Linked DNA regions of Homo sapiens: region 2 is linked to region 1. Evidence: promoter capture Hi-C in human tissues and cell types (Jung and others, 2019). All regions are on one chromosome and are shown on one strand. The core of a region is centred on a gene start or on the middle of the fragment in contact, and the rest is flanking DNA. Distances in the headings are between cores, read along the strand shown.

What was found. The method cuts DNA at HindIII sites, captures the fragments that hold promoters and counts their contacts. A contact is called where the count stands out against the background at its distance.
Region 2: a contact is called between a fragment that was not itself captured here and the fragment with the promoter of HERC6 in region 1, in 12 of the 25 tissues and cell types used here (H1 embryonic stem cells, adrenal gland, aorta and 9 more).

Annotation. Positions count from the first base shown.
Region 1 is chr4:88,373,926-88,380,967 of GRCh38, reverse strand. It overlaps HERC6 (HECT and RLD domain containing E3 ubiquitin protein ligase family member 6), which reads right to left and starts at 2,116. Exons shown (of 23, transcript NM_017912.4): 1 at 1,848-2,116. The coding sequence starts at 2,046. RefSeq lists an enhancer at 1,364-1,693 and a silencer at 1,704-1,893. The HindIII fragment of the contact is 12,273 bases long and covers 1-4,845 here.
Region 2 is chr4:88,286,226-88,292,958 of GRCh38, reverse strand. The region is part of intron 1 of PPM1K-DT (PPM1K divergent transcript); the gene reads right to left. Among named protein-coding and RNA genes, the nearest start is that of PPM1K-DT, 4.7 kb to the right of the region's middle. The HindIII fragment of the contact is 5,845 bases long and covers 1-5,494 here.

The sequences.
Region 1 (7,042 bases), core at 867-3,366:
TGCTTGATGAAAACACAATGTACAGAGTTGCATAAATACTGCATATACAAATCTATAATGACATGATTTTTATAAAGATTAAATATGTACATAGAAAAAAGTAGACAAGGAGAAAATGCATCAAAATGTTAGGAGTTATCTTTGGGTGTTGGAGCTACGGTGATTGCTTTCTCGTATTTCTACAATAATCCATAACGATTATTGTATTATCTCACATATATAATATATATATTTATTATTATTATGTTTTTTGAGACAGAGTCTTGCTCTGTTGCCAGGCTGGAGTGCAGTGTCGCGATTTCGGCTCACTGCAACCTCTGCCTCCCGGGTTCAAGCGATTCCCCTGCCTCAGCCTCCCAAGTAGCTGGGACTACAGGCGCCCGCCACCACGCCCAGTTTATTTTTTGTATTTTAGTAGAGATGGGGTTTCATCATATTGGCCAGGGTGGTCTCGATTTCCTGACCTCGTGCTCCGCCCGCCTCGGCCTCCCAAAGTGCTGGGATCACAGGCGTAAGCCACCGCGTCCGGCCTATTATGTGTATATATATATATTTATATATTATATATATATATTTATATATTATATATATATATTTATATATTATATATATATTTATATTATATATATATTTATATATTATATATATATTTATATATTATATATATATTTATATATTATATATTTATATATTATATATATTTATATATTATATATTTATATATTATATATATTTATATATTATATATTTATATATTATATATATATTTATATTATATATATATTTATATATTATATATATATTTATATATTATATATATTTATATATTATATATATTTATATATTATATATATTTATATATTATATATATATTTATATATTATATATATTTATATATTATATATATTTATATATTATATATATATTTATATATTATATATATTTATATATTATATATATTTATATATTATATATATATTTATATATTATATATATTTATATATTATATATATTTATATATTATATATATATTTATATATTATATATATTTATATATTATATATATTTATATATTATATATATATTTATATATTATATATATTTATATGCTATATATATATTTATATATTATATATATTTATATGTTATATATATATTTATATATTATATATATTTATATGTTATATATATATTTATATATTATATATATTTATATGTTATATATTTATATATTTATATATTATATATATTTATATATTATATATTTATATATTATATATTTGTATATATTTATATATTATATATATTTATATATTTTATATATATATTTTTATATATATATATTTTTTAATGCCCCAGTGTATTTCTAAGGGAGATACAGGTGTCTGACCCACAAACCACGTTTGTAAGGTCAGGCTGCCTTCTCCAGGTAGAACCGCGCAGGCGAGGATTTATCTGCAAGGCAAGCCGGAGGGACCACATCTCTTTCCAGAGCAGCGCTGACCAGGTTAGTTTCGGCTCTCAGTTTCGCTTTGAACTTGAATTGGAAACCGAAACAAATCCGAGGGGCGTTGGGAAAACGAAACTGAGGAAGTTGCTCTTCGGTAGCACAGGGCACCATTTTCCTGGTTCCTGTGGCTCTTCGGGCCCCGAGGAATCCAAGGCTCCCAGCACCCCTCCCTGCCTGGCCCGCGGCGCCCAGCATCTGAGCCGCTCCCTGCACCTGGGCCCCCGCGCCCCTCACCCGGGTCCCAGCGCTCCGCACCCGGTTCCCTGCGCCCGGTACCCAAGCCCCCGCGCCCATGTACTGGGGTCCTCACACCCTGCACCTGGGGCCCCCCGCTCACCTGGCAGCTCCCCGCGCTGCGCGCCCCTGCGGCCCAGCTGACCCCTGCTGTTGTCTCCGCACGAGAGGACCCTGTGGTTGGTCAGCAGCAGCAGAGAGTGGCGCTCCCCGCTGGCCGCCTGCAGTAGCTCAGCCCCGGGGCTGCCCGCCGTCCTCCGGCGCTGCAGCTCCCTGGAGTCGGCGCCCCAACAGAAGTACATCCCGCTTCTGCGCCCTGTCGCCTGCTCCGGATTCCGTCGGTCCCGCTGCGACAGGCTCCCGAACGCTGGTGACTGGGTGCGCGATGATTTCCTGAATATCAAGAGACTCACCCTGTCTTCAACCCGCCCCAGGGGCGCAGCCCTGGCCCCATGTCAACTCTCGCTGCCTGAACTTCAAGTGCTGAAGAGCAGAGAGGGCGTCCCAGGGAATAAAACTGAGTTTACATCCTAAGCCATTTATGAGTCGTGAATGCCACTTTGGGCAAGTTACCTAATGATTCCGTGCTTCAGCTATCATATCTACGAAATATGGACTGCAATTCAGCAAATCTAATATGTCGGGATAATTTAATAGGCACATAAAGTGTTAGAATAATACCTAGAGTGGTTAATAAAGCATCTGAGTGCCCACCTCATTCCAGACCTTTTTTGGCATTGAAAATATGTTTGTTTTTTGTTTGTTTGTTTGTTTGTTTGTTTGAGATGGAGTGTCGCTCTGCTGCTCAGGCTGGAGTGCAGTGGCACCATCTCGGCTCACTGCAACCTCCACCTCACGGGTTCAAGCTGATTCTCTTGCCTCGGCCTCCCGAGTAGGTGGGATTACAGGCATGCGCCACGACGCCCGACTTAATTTTTGTATTTTTAGTAAAGATGGGGTTTCACCATGTTGGCCAGGCTGGTCTCGAACTCCTGACCTCAAGTGATCCACCCCTCAGCTTTCCAAAGTGCAGGGATTACAGGCGTGAGCCTCTGGGCCCCGCCTGAAAATACAATTAGTGAAAGACAAGATCCTCTTGATGCGTTTACATTCTCCTGAGGGAAAGAGAACATAAACAGATAAACACATAGTGTAATATCAAGGGGCAACGAAAAATACAACAGGAACCAGAGGGTGGAGGCGGAAGGCACTGGTATTTGAGATGATATTAGGGAAGATCTCTCTGATGAAGTGATATTTGTGCAGAGAGCTGAGGGGACATGGGAAATGAGGGAATGAGTCGTGATCACACCTGAGGGCAGAGGATGAAAAGAAGCAGTTGGAAGGTTTTGAATAGAGAAGAGCCATGATCTGACTTCAGTTTTTAAAGATTCATCTGGCTGCTGTGTGAAAAATAATAGGACAAAAATGGAAGCAGAAAGCCAGTTAGCAGAGACTACTTCAGAGTTCAGGTCAGGTGATATCCTAGAAGGGAAGAGAGGAGAAGTTATTAGATTCAAGACATGTTTTGAAAGTAAGAGTCCACAGATTTGATGATGGATTAGAAATTGGGGGGAAAGAAGAAAAGGGATTAGGGATTACTCCAGGGTTGGCTTTAGGGGTTACTCCAAGGTAAACTCTACTGGACTGGGAAACCCTGAGGAAGGTGCAGGTTTAAGCTATGTGTGTCTGGAATACAGATTGGTAATGATAACTGTAAGATGCTTGTTAATCAAGAAGGCAATAGGATAAACTGTTTTGGAGTTGTAGAGAGAAGCTTGGGTGTAGTCAGAAAATTGGGAGCCATCAGTGTAGAGGTGATGCTTAAAGCCAGATGGCTGAATGAGAACACCCAGGGGGTGAATGTGGTGACAGTATAGCAGAGGCTAGAGGACTGATCATAGGAGGAAAACCAGGAGGAGGAGTTATAGACAGAGCAAGTAACGAATAAAGGAAGGATCAACTCTGTCAATTTCTTGTGGAGCAAGGTAAGGATTGAGCACTGATTTTTATTTATTTATTTGTTTGTTTGTTTGAGATAGAGTTTCCGCTCTTGATGCCCAGGCTGGAGTGCAATGGCGTGATCTCAACTCACAGCAACCTCCGCCTCCCAGGTTCAAGCAATCCTCCCGCCTTAGCCTCCCAAGTAGCGGGACTACAGGCACGTGCCACTACGCCCAGCTAACTTTTGTATTTTTTGAAGAGATGGGGTTTCATCATGTTGCCCAGGCTGGTCTTGAACTCCTGACCTCAGATGATCTGCCTACCTCAGCCTTCCAAAGTGCTGTGATTATAGGCCACCATGTCCCGCTGAGCACTGGTTTTTAGATTTGGTAACTTTGATAATGTTAGCCATCATCAGCATTATTGATTTTTTTTTAAAAGAAACTATTACAGAACCTATTTATGTAATTTCAATTCACCACTCTTCATGACCATGTTTCAAGTTCTTTAAAGAGAAGAACAAATGTTCTTTATTTTTCTACCTCAAGAGTACCTGGAACTTGGTAGATGCTAATAAGGGTATGTCGGACAATTGGATTGATGAGTAGTGAGTCAGTGGATAGTATTAGTATTTCTGGTTCTGTTTTGCTGTATACCAAATATAACCTTTTTCTGAATAGTAATTTCTTAATGTTTATTTCTTTTCTCAAGCACAAAATGTAGGAGTTTGGTATTATTACCATAAGATACTGAGCCCTCAAATTAAGTTATTTCTTTAAAAAAAAATTTTTTTTTGAGACAGAGTCTCGCTTTGCCACCCAGGCTGGAGTGTAGTGGCACGATCTCAGCTCACTGCAACCTCCACCTCCCCGATTCAAGCGATTCTCCTGCCTCAGCCTCCTGAACAGCTCAGATTACAGGCGGGCACTATCACACCTGGCTAATTTTTGTATTTTTCGTAGAGATAGGGTTTCACCATGTTGGCCAGGCTGATCTCGAACTTCTAACCTCAAGTGATCCGCCTGCCTCAGCCTCCCAAAGTGCTGGGATTACAGGCGTGAGCCACCACTCTTGGCCTAAAAAATCTTTTATTGATACATAATAGATGCACATGTTTTGGGGGTACATATGATAATTTGACACATTATCAAATTGGGATATCTATCGCCTTAAATAATTTATCTTGGGCTAGGCACAGTGGCTCATGCCTATAATCCTAGCACTTTAGGAGGCCGAGATGGGAGGATCGCTTGAGCTCAGGAGTTGGAGACCAGCCTGGGCAACATGGTGAAACCCCATCTTTACAAAAAATAGCTGGGTGCAGTGGCACATACCTGTAGTCCCAGCTACGTGGGAGGCTGAGGTGGGAGGATTGCTTGAGCCCGGAGCCTGGGAGGTGGAAGGTGCAGTGAGCCCAGATCGTGCCACTGCACTCCAGCCTGGGCGACAGAGCCAGACCCTATCTCAAAAAAAAAAAAAAAAAAAAAAGGAACATTCAAATTATTATTGGCTAGTGGTTTTGAAATGTACCTATAGTCATTCTACTGAGCTATTGAACCAGGTCTTATTTCTTCTATCCAACTGTATATTTGTACCCATTAATCAACCTCTCTTCATTTTCCTCACCCCTACCCCTACTCTTCCTGGACTCTGGTTACCAACAATGTACTCCTTATCTTCATGAGATTCACTTTTTTTTTTTTTACTCTCTGACATATGAGTGAAAACACGTGATAATTGTCTTTCTGTGCTTGGCTTATTTCATTAACATAATGACCATTCCACCCATGTTGCTGCAGAAATGACAGAATTCCATTCTTTTTTTATGGCTGAACAATATTTCATTATGTATATGTACCACATTTTCTTTATCCATTCATCTATTGATGGGCACTTAGCCTGATTCCAAATTTGGGCTATTGTGAATAGTACTGCAGTAAATGTGGGAGTGCAGATGTCTCTTTGATATATTGATTTCCTTTCTTTTGTATATACACAGAGTAGTGAAATTGCTGAATCATATGGTATTTCTATTTTTAGTTTTTTGAGGAACCTCCATACTGTTCTCCATAGTGGCTGTACTAATTTACATTCCCACCAACAATGTATGAAATGTACATCAACAGTGTACGTTTCTTTACATCCTCACCTGCATTCCTTATTCCCTATCTTTTGGTAAAAGCCATTCTAGCTGTGGTGAGATGATATCTCATGGTTTTGATTTGCATTTCTATGAAGATTAGTGATGTTGAGCATTTTTTCTTATACTTGTTGGCCATTTGTATGTCTGCTTTTGAGAAATGTCCATTCAGATCATTTGCCCTTTTAAAATCAGATTTTTTTTTTTGCTGTTCAGTTATCTGAGCTTCTTATAATAATATGGTTATTAATCCCTTGTCAGACAGATAGTTTACAAATATTTTTCTCCCATTCTGTGGGTTGTCTCTTCACTTTGTTGAGTTTCCTTTGCTGTGGAGAAGCTTTTTCGCTTAATGTAATCTCACTGGTCTATTTTTGCTTTTGTTTCCTGTGTTTTTGAGATCTTCCACAAAATTTTTTGCCCAGAGCAATGTCCCAAAGCATTTCCCCAATGTTTTCTTCTAGTAGTTTCACATCTTATATTGTCTTTAATTAACTTTGATTTGATTTTTGTATATGGGTCTAGTTTCTTTCTTTCTTTTTTTTTTTTTCTGAGATGGAGTTTTGTTCTTGTCTCCCAGGCTGGAGTGCACTGGCACAATCTCTGCTCACTGCAACCTCCACCTCCCAGGTTCAAGCAATTCTCCTGCCTCAGCCTCCTGAGTAGCTGGGATTACAGGCCTCTGCCATCACGCCCGTCTAATTTTTATATTTTTAGTAGAGACAGGGTTTCGCCATGTTGGCTAGGCTGGTCTCGAACTCCTGATCTCAGGTGAACCATTCGCCTCGGCCTCCCAAAGTGCTGGGATTACAGGTGTGAGCCACCACGCCCGGCCAGGGGTCTAGTTTCATTCTTCTGCATGCAGAAGTTTTCCCAGCACCATTTATTGAAGAGACTGTCCTTTCTCCATTATATATTTTTGGCTTCTTTGTCAAAAATGAGTTGGCTCTAAGTGTGTGGATTTATGTCTGAATTCTATATTCTGTTCCATTGATCTGTGTATCTGTTTTTATACTAATATGCTGATTTGGTTACTAGCTTTGTAGTACATTTTGAAGACAGGTAGGGTGATGCCTACAGCTTTGTTCTTATGCTTATTGCTTTGGCTGTTAATGGTCTTCTATTTAAAAAAAATAATAATAACTTTTATTTCCCTGAAAAAAGTCATTGGAATTTTGATGGGAATTGCATTAAATCTATAGATTGCTTTGGAT
Region 2 (6,733 bases), core at 1,323-3,822, 88 kb after region 1:
TTTTTGTTTGTTTTTTTAAGAGATGGGAGTCTCACTCTGCCACTCAGGTTGGAGTGCAGTGGTGCGACCATAGCTCCCTACACTCTAAGTTCTGGGCTCAAGTGATCCTACTGCCTCAGCCGCCTCCCAAAGCACTTGGATTGCAGAACTGAGCCACCACGCCTGGCCCAGAACATCCTTAAAATGTTTAACCTCGCTGAACTATGTACAGAGAGGAAATGTAGTAAGACGATATACCTTGGAGACTAAGGGGCCTAGGTGAAAATCCCTGCTGTTCCACTGTATGGCCTAAGGCACGTCATTAACTTTGTGCCTCAAAATTTCCTCATCTGTAACATTGGGATAGTACTATCTATATCAAAGGGCTATTGCGTGGATATATGTAAGGTTTCTGTAAAAACTGACATTGAATAGAGGTTAATGGTGGGCAAACAAAGACATTTATAGGAAGAACATATAAACTATCAATCAGTTCAGCTTTCATTTTCTATTTTTGAGAGGTAAATAGCACAGTAGTTAGGAATATAAACTGTGGAGCCAAACTGCAAGGATTCATATCCTGGCTCCATCATTTACAAGCTGTGTGACCTCAGGCAAGTTACTTAACCTCTCTCTCTGTGCCTCATCTGTAAAATGGGGATGACAATAACAACACTGGCCCTTCTCTTAGGGCTAATGTAAGGATTAAGTGAGTTGATACATGTAGAACATTTAGAACAGTGCCTAGACAGAGGAAGCATTTGTAAGGGTTAGTGTCATGGTTAATTTTATTTGCCAATTTGGCTAGGCCGAGGTTCTCTAATATTTTGTCCAATGCCAGTCTAGCTGTGAAGGTATTTTCAGATGGGACTAATATTTAAATCAGTAGACCTCATCTGGAAGATTATCCTCCATATGGGGGTAGCCCTCAACCAATCAGTTGAAGTCCCTAAGAGAAAAAGACTTAAGTCACCCAAAGAAGCAGGAATTCTACCTGCTCCATGGCAGGAACAGCCCATGGAAGAGTTTGAATACCAGCCTCAGAAGTTTAGGATTTTTTTTTCCCCTACTGGAAATGGGGAGCTAGTGAAACTTTGTGAAATAATGTCATAAGATGAAAAGAGTATCAAAAGGTGTTGGATTCGTTAGGAGGAGGGAGAAACTAGGGAAAGAGAGAACAGGTAGAAAATAGTACAGCCTTGCATTATACAGGGGTATCCAGTTTGTTACTGGAAGAGCAATGAGCATCTTTTCCTTTACTCTTTACATTGAAATACATTTCAGGCCATACAGAGGTCCCTCATGTGGGCAGCCTGCTGTCCCTCTCTTGGTCCCCTTCCCGTTTTTCCTTTGCTGTAATTCTCCTTCTTCCCAGATTCCAGCTTCCTATCACTTCGTATGGTCTATGAGAAGACAGGGTGGGGTTAGGAAACATCATTTTTGCTGTCATTTGTGACCTGGGTAAGGTCTTTCCTGGTTTCACTGTGGCAGAATGACTGTGGATTCTTATTTCCTTATATTAATTAAAGTATATTCAAGAAAACAGATCTCTCTTGCACATTTCTCATAGCACAAAATTTGAATTTTTAAACTTTTTCTGGAGTATTTTTGCATATAAAATCTAGATTGCCCAAAGCCACAATAACTTATAAAACTGGCCCTGGTTTAAAGTCTATATCTAACACTGCTAGGGAAAGAAACATAGCTGGTTCCTTTCCCAGAGTATGTCAATTAGCTGGAAAAATAATACTTTCTTTTCTGCCATTGGAAGAGAAACTGACCAATAGAAAAGCAGTTCAGCACCTACACCCACTCGGTACAAAATAAGGCGGTGTGTTTGTACGTGCATTTGGTTGCTTGACAACCAGTGACAAACAGGCTTTTCATCATCTCTTACAATGTTACCTTGATATTCCAAACTCTAATATAAAGGAGACTCAGAAGAGAGCGATGAGTTTAGAAAACTGGACATCATTTCCAATAGGATATAAGCATACACACTTCCAGTGTTACAGATTTCAAAGACAAAGGCAGTTTCTCTTAATACTGCGTGCATTTTTCTGTTGTTCAGCTTGGACAAAACTAATTATTTATACATTCACTTCATTCCACTGACAAGAAAAATATTTATTGAATATTCTTTATAGGGATTACAAGGGAATTTTTGGCCTGTTTCAGCCATATTCTAATAGCGCATTAGCAGATATTACTTGGCAATAAACATTGACTTTTAGATTATCCAAGGTATAATTTTCACTGTGTTATTATGCACCATTTCCCACAGCTAGAAAGATACAACATTAATTTAAATGTGTTTGTATGTTGCTTTATAGGGTTTTCAATTTTTTAAACTACATATTTATAGGCTTCTTCAATGCACTGTAAAAGCTTCAAAGAATAATAACACTGCTTATTTTTATGGGACACTTATGTTCTCTACCTAATTGATTTCTGGAAGTGATTATATAGGTTAGCCAGGGCAGGTTATATTTAGTGCTGTTTTACAGATAATGAAACAGAGGCACAGGAAATTGGGTATTTGCTTGAGGACCCACATGGGTCAAAAGCAATGTTAGCCCTGAAGGGCTTCGGATTCAAATATAAGGAATGTTTTCTATCTTTTCAAGATACTTCTTGAATTAGAAACTTGTTTTCTCTTTCTCCATTGTTTCTTGGTAGCTTTGTATAATATTCAACCACACTGAATAACACTATACTTTTTCACTTGTAGCATTCATCATACATAGTTGCCTACCTTCAAATTTTCCTTCCAATTTTCATGAAAGCAGAGACCAGGTTTATATTGTTCATTTATTGCCATGAGTCCACAGCCTAACATAGTTTCTGATAGATAGTATGATCTTCATGAATATTTATTGAATAAATGTATGAAAATTTCCCTTAGGCTAAAATTACCCCAAGAACAATTCAAGTAAATAATTTTAAGTTAATTTTAAGTTAGGGTTAATATTTCTATCAGTTGAGATAGGATACATGAAGTTAGGTTAAGATCCAGTAACAAACTACATCAAAGGTTTGTTTCTTGTTCATGTTCCATGGCTATCATAGGCTTGCAGTGGAATTCTCTTCCTTGGAGTCATTCAGGGAGCAGCCATTCTCTGGAACATTGCTGGTTGCAATGGCAGAGGTGAGTGAACCTTGGAGGGTCTTGCACAGGGATACGAAATGCTCACTCAAAAATTACCCCATCACCTCCACTCACAATTCATTGACCAGGACAAGTCACAGATGCCTGCCTTCGCCTGGCACTACTGGCTTGGGTGATGAAGAACAGTAAACATTTAGCAAACAATGCTAATAATGACTATCATATTTCGCTTCCTTGATTTTGAGCATTTTGTGATTTAAATAAAACACAATTTTGTATAACCTTTCTTACAAAATACATTTACAAAATATGATTGTTCTCACAACAGCTCTGATGGGAAACATGCAATTAAAGGCTTGAATAAGGGTCAAATAGAATGAATAATAGTCAAATAATCGGAGGTGGAAATGGAAAGACATTTCAAATCTCTGTAGCATTGGTACTGGTCGAAGTTTTTTTTTTTTTTTTTTGAGGCAGAATCTTGCTCTTTTGTTCAGGCTGGAGCGCAGTGGCATGATCTTGGCTCGCTGCAACCTCTGCCTCCCAGGTTCAAGTGATTCTCCTGCCTCATCCTCCCGAGTAGCTGGGATTACAGGTGCACGCCACCACACCCAGCTAATTTTTGTATTTTTAGTAGAGACGGCATTTTGCCATGTTGGTCAGGCTGGTCTCGAACTCCTGACCTCAAATGATCCACCCTTCTCGGCCTCCCAGAGTGCTGGGATTACAGACATGAGCCACTGCGCCTGGCCTGAAGCTTATTTATTCCAAATTTTTAGAGGTAAATTATACAGGGTGGGGGAAGCAACAATCATATTTTAAAATAAAATCATTGCTGCAAGTTTAATTGCATCCAAGGACAAGATTTCAAATTCTCTCTCTCTCTTTTCTTTTCTTTTTTTTTTTTAAAGAGACAAGGTCTTGCTTTGTTGCCCAGGCTGGAGTGCAGTGGCATGTTCATAGCTCACTGCAACCCCAAACGCCTGGGATCAAGTAATCCTTCCACCTCAGCCTCTCAAGTAGTTGGGACTACAGGCATACATCACCATGTCTGGCTAATCTTTTTTTTTTTTTTTGTAGAACAGGGGTCTCACTATCTTGCCCAGGCTGGTCTCGAATTCCTGGCCTCAAGCTGTCTTCCTGCCTTGGCCTCCAAAAGTGGTGGGATTACAGGGATGAGCCACTGCAACAGACCTAAAAATTCTCTATGTCAGTGTTTTGGCAATTATCTTGGTAACACAGAGAAGGGACATCTGGGCTAGCAATTCAGGACAGAGCAGCCTGAACTGTGGAAAAAATACATCCTAGTATCCCAGGCCCATGTTTTAGGCATGAGGCCAAGAGTAGCCTACAGATACTTTTCTAGAAAACTGCTGATTCTGAGTATACAAAAATGTCCATATCTAATTTTAACAACAAATGATTCATTAGTGAATATTAATAATTCTGCAATTATACATACCACCCACCCACCCAAAGCCCTGTGAATTGTTTTGGGTGTAATTTTCTGATAGCCAGTGGTTTTCAGCAGATGGTCCAATTCTTTAAAATATAAACTGAGCTGGGCACAATGGTGCATGCCTGTAGTCCTAGCTACTCCAGTGAGGCGGGAGAATCATTTGAGCCCAGGAATTCAAGGCTATAGTGCACTATTATCACATTTGTGAATAGTCCCTGCAATCCAGCCTGGGAAACACAGGGAGACCCTGTCTCTAAAAAAAAATAAGTAAATAAAATAAAATATAAACTGAATAAAGAAGTAGCTCAACTTAATGAATGTACGGAGTGCCATATCCCCTTGATTATTTTGTACATTGTGCAGTGATCTGTCATGCCAAGTCAGCCTCTGTGGTGAATTCTTTTCCATTTTTTAATTTTTTGTCAAATACCAAATAATGATTTCCTTTACACATTATTCACATTTTAAAAGCTTTTATTTTAGGTTCTGGGGTACATGAACAGGTTTCTTATACAGATAAACTGCATTTCATGGGGGTTTGGTGTACCAATAATTGTGCATTTTATTTTATTTTTTTGAGACGGAGTCTTGCTCTGTCGCCCAGGCTGGAGTGCAGTGGCGCGATCTCGGCTCACTGCAAGCTCCGCCTCCCGGGTTCACGCCATTCTCCTGCCTCAGCCTCCCAAGTAGCTGGGACTACAGGCGCCCGCCACCACGCCGGCTAATTTTTTGTATTTTTAGTGGAGACGGGGTTTCACCGTGTTAGCCAGGATGGTCTTGATCTCCTAACCTTGTGATCCACCCGCCTCGGCCTCCCAAAGTGCTGTCACCTAGGCTAGAGTACAGTGGTGAGATCATGGTTCACTGCAGCCTGGACCTCCTGGGCTCAGGTGATCCTCCCACCTCAGCCTCCCGAGTAGCTGGGATCACAGGTATGCGCCACCATGCCTGGCTCATTTTTGTATTTTTTTGTAGAGACCATGGTTTTGACATGTTGCTCAGGCTAGTCTTGAACTCCCAGCTCAAGTGATTGGCAGCCTTGGCCTCTCAAAGTGCTGGGATTACAGGCATGAACCACTGTGCTGGCCATGAATTATTTTTGTGGTGTATTTAGCTATGCTTCAGAGATTCAAAACCCAGAAGCATATAATTCAAAAGAAGTAAACTGCTGGCTTTAATTTTAATGAGCTGTGGTAGAGTGTGAAATGGTGTGATTTTCAAAGGCAATTTCAAGGACTGTTTTAGTATCAAAGATATTCTTCAGAACAGCCTAAGTGGCTTTGCTTATCATGTGACTCTGGATTCCAGTCTGTTTTGGTACAAGGATTTAGCAAAGTCATGATGTTCTCAGATGCTGGGCATGCAAGTGGTTATAAAAAAGGTCAAAACTCCAGGACAATTCAAAATATTTTACACTTCCAAGCTTAAAATTTCCCACATCTTTCTTGTTACCAAAATTTTTCACATTTGTGAAAGCAAAGTCCTCATTATCTGCACCAAATTTTGATCCAAATGATTGAGATATTGCAACACATGATACTACATTATTGATGAGCAGATTTTTAAAAACTTAATAGTAACTTAGCTACCAAAATACTCCATCAAATGAAAGCCATCACCAACAGATATGTAGTAGAATGCTCATAGTAGCACTATCTATAATGGCTCTAAATGGCAAACTGCCCTAATGTCCATCAGAAGAATGAATTCATAAATTACAGTATATCCACAGAATGGAAAACAAAATGAATGATCTACAACTGCATACAACAATATGGAAGAATCTCACAAGTGTAATGTTGAGTCCAAGTAGCCAGAAACAAAAGAACACATACTTTATGGCTTTATATATAACAAGTATAAAGATAGGCAAAACTACCTATGCTGTTGAAAGTCAGCATAGAAACTCCCCTTGGAAGAAGGCAGTGCCTGGAAGGCAGGTTGATGGGGTTCCCAGGTATTAATAATGTTTTGTTCCTTGATCTGGGTGCTGGATACAAAGGTGTCTGCAGACTGTGAAAATTCATTGAGCTGTCTACACTTAGGATATGTGCACTTTTTAAGACACATGTTTCAATAAAATTATTATTTTTTTAAATTCCACGCCAGGTACAGTGGCTCATGCCTGTAATCCCAGCACTTTGGGAGGCTGAGGTGGGTGGATTGCTTGAGTTCAGGAGTTCAAG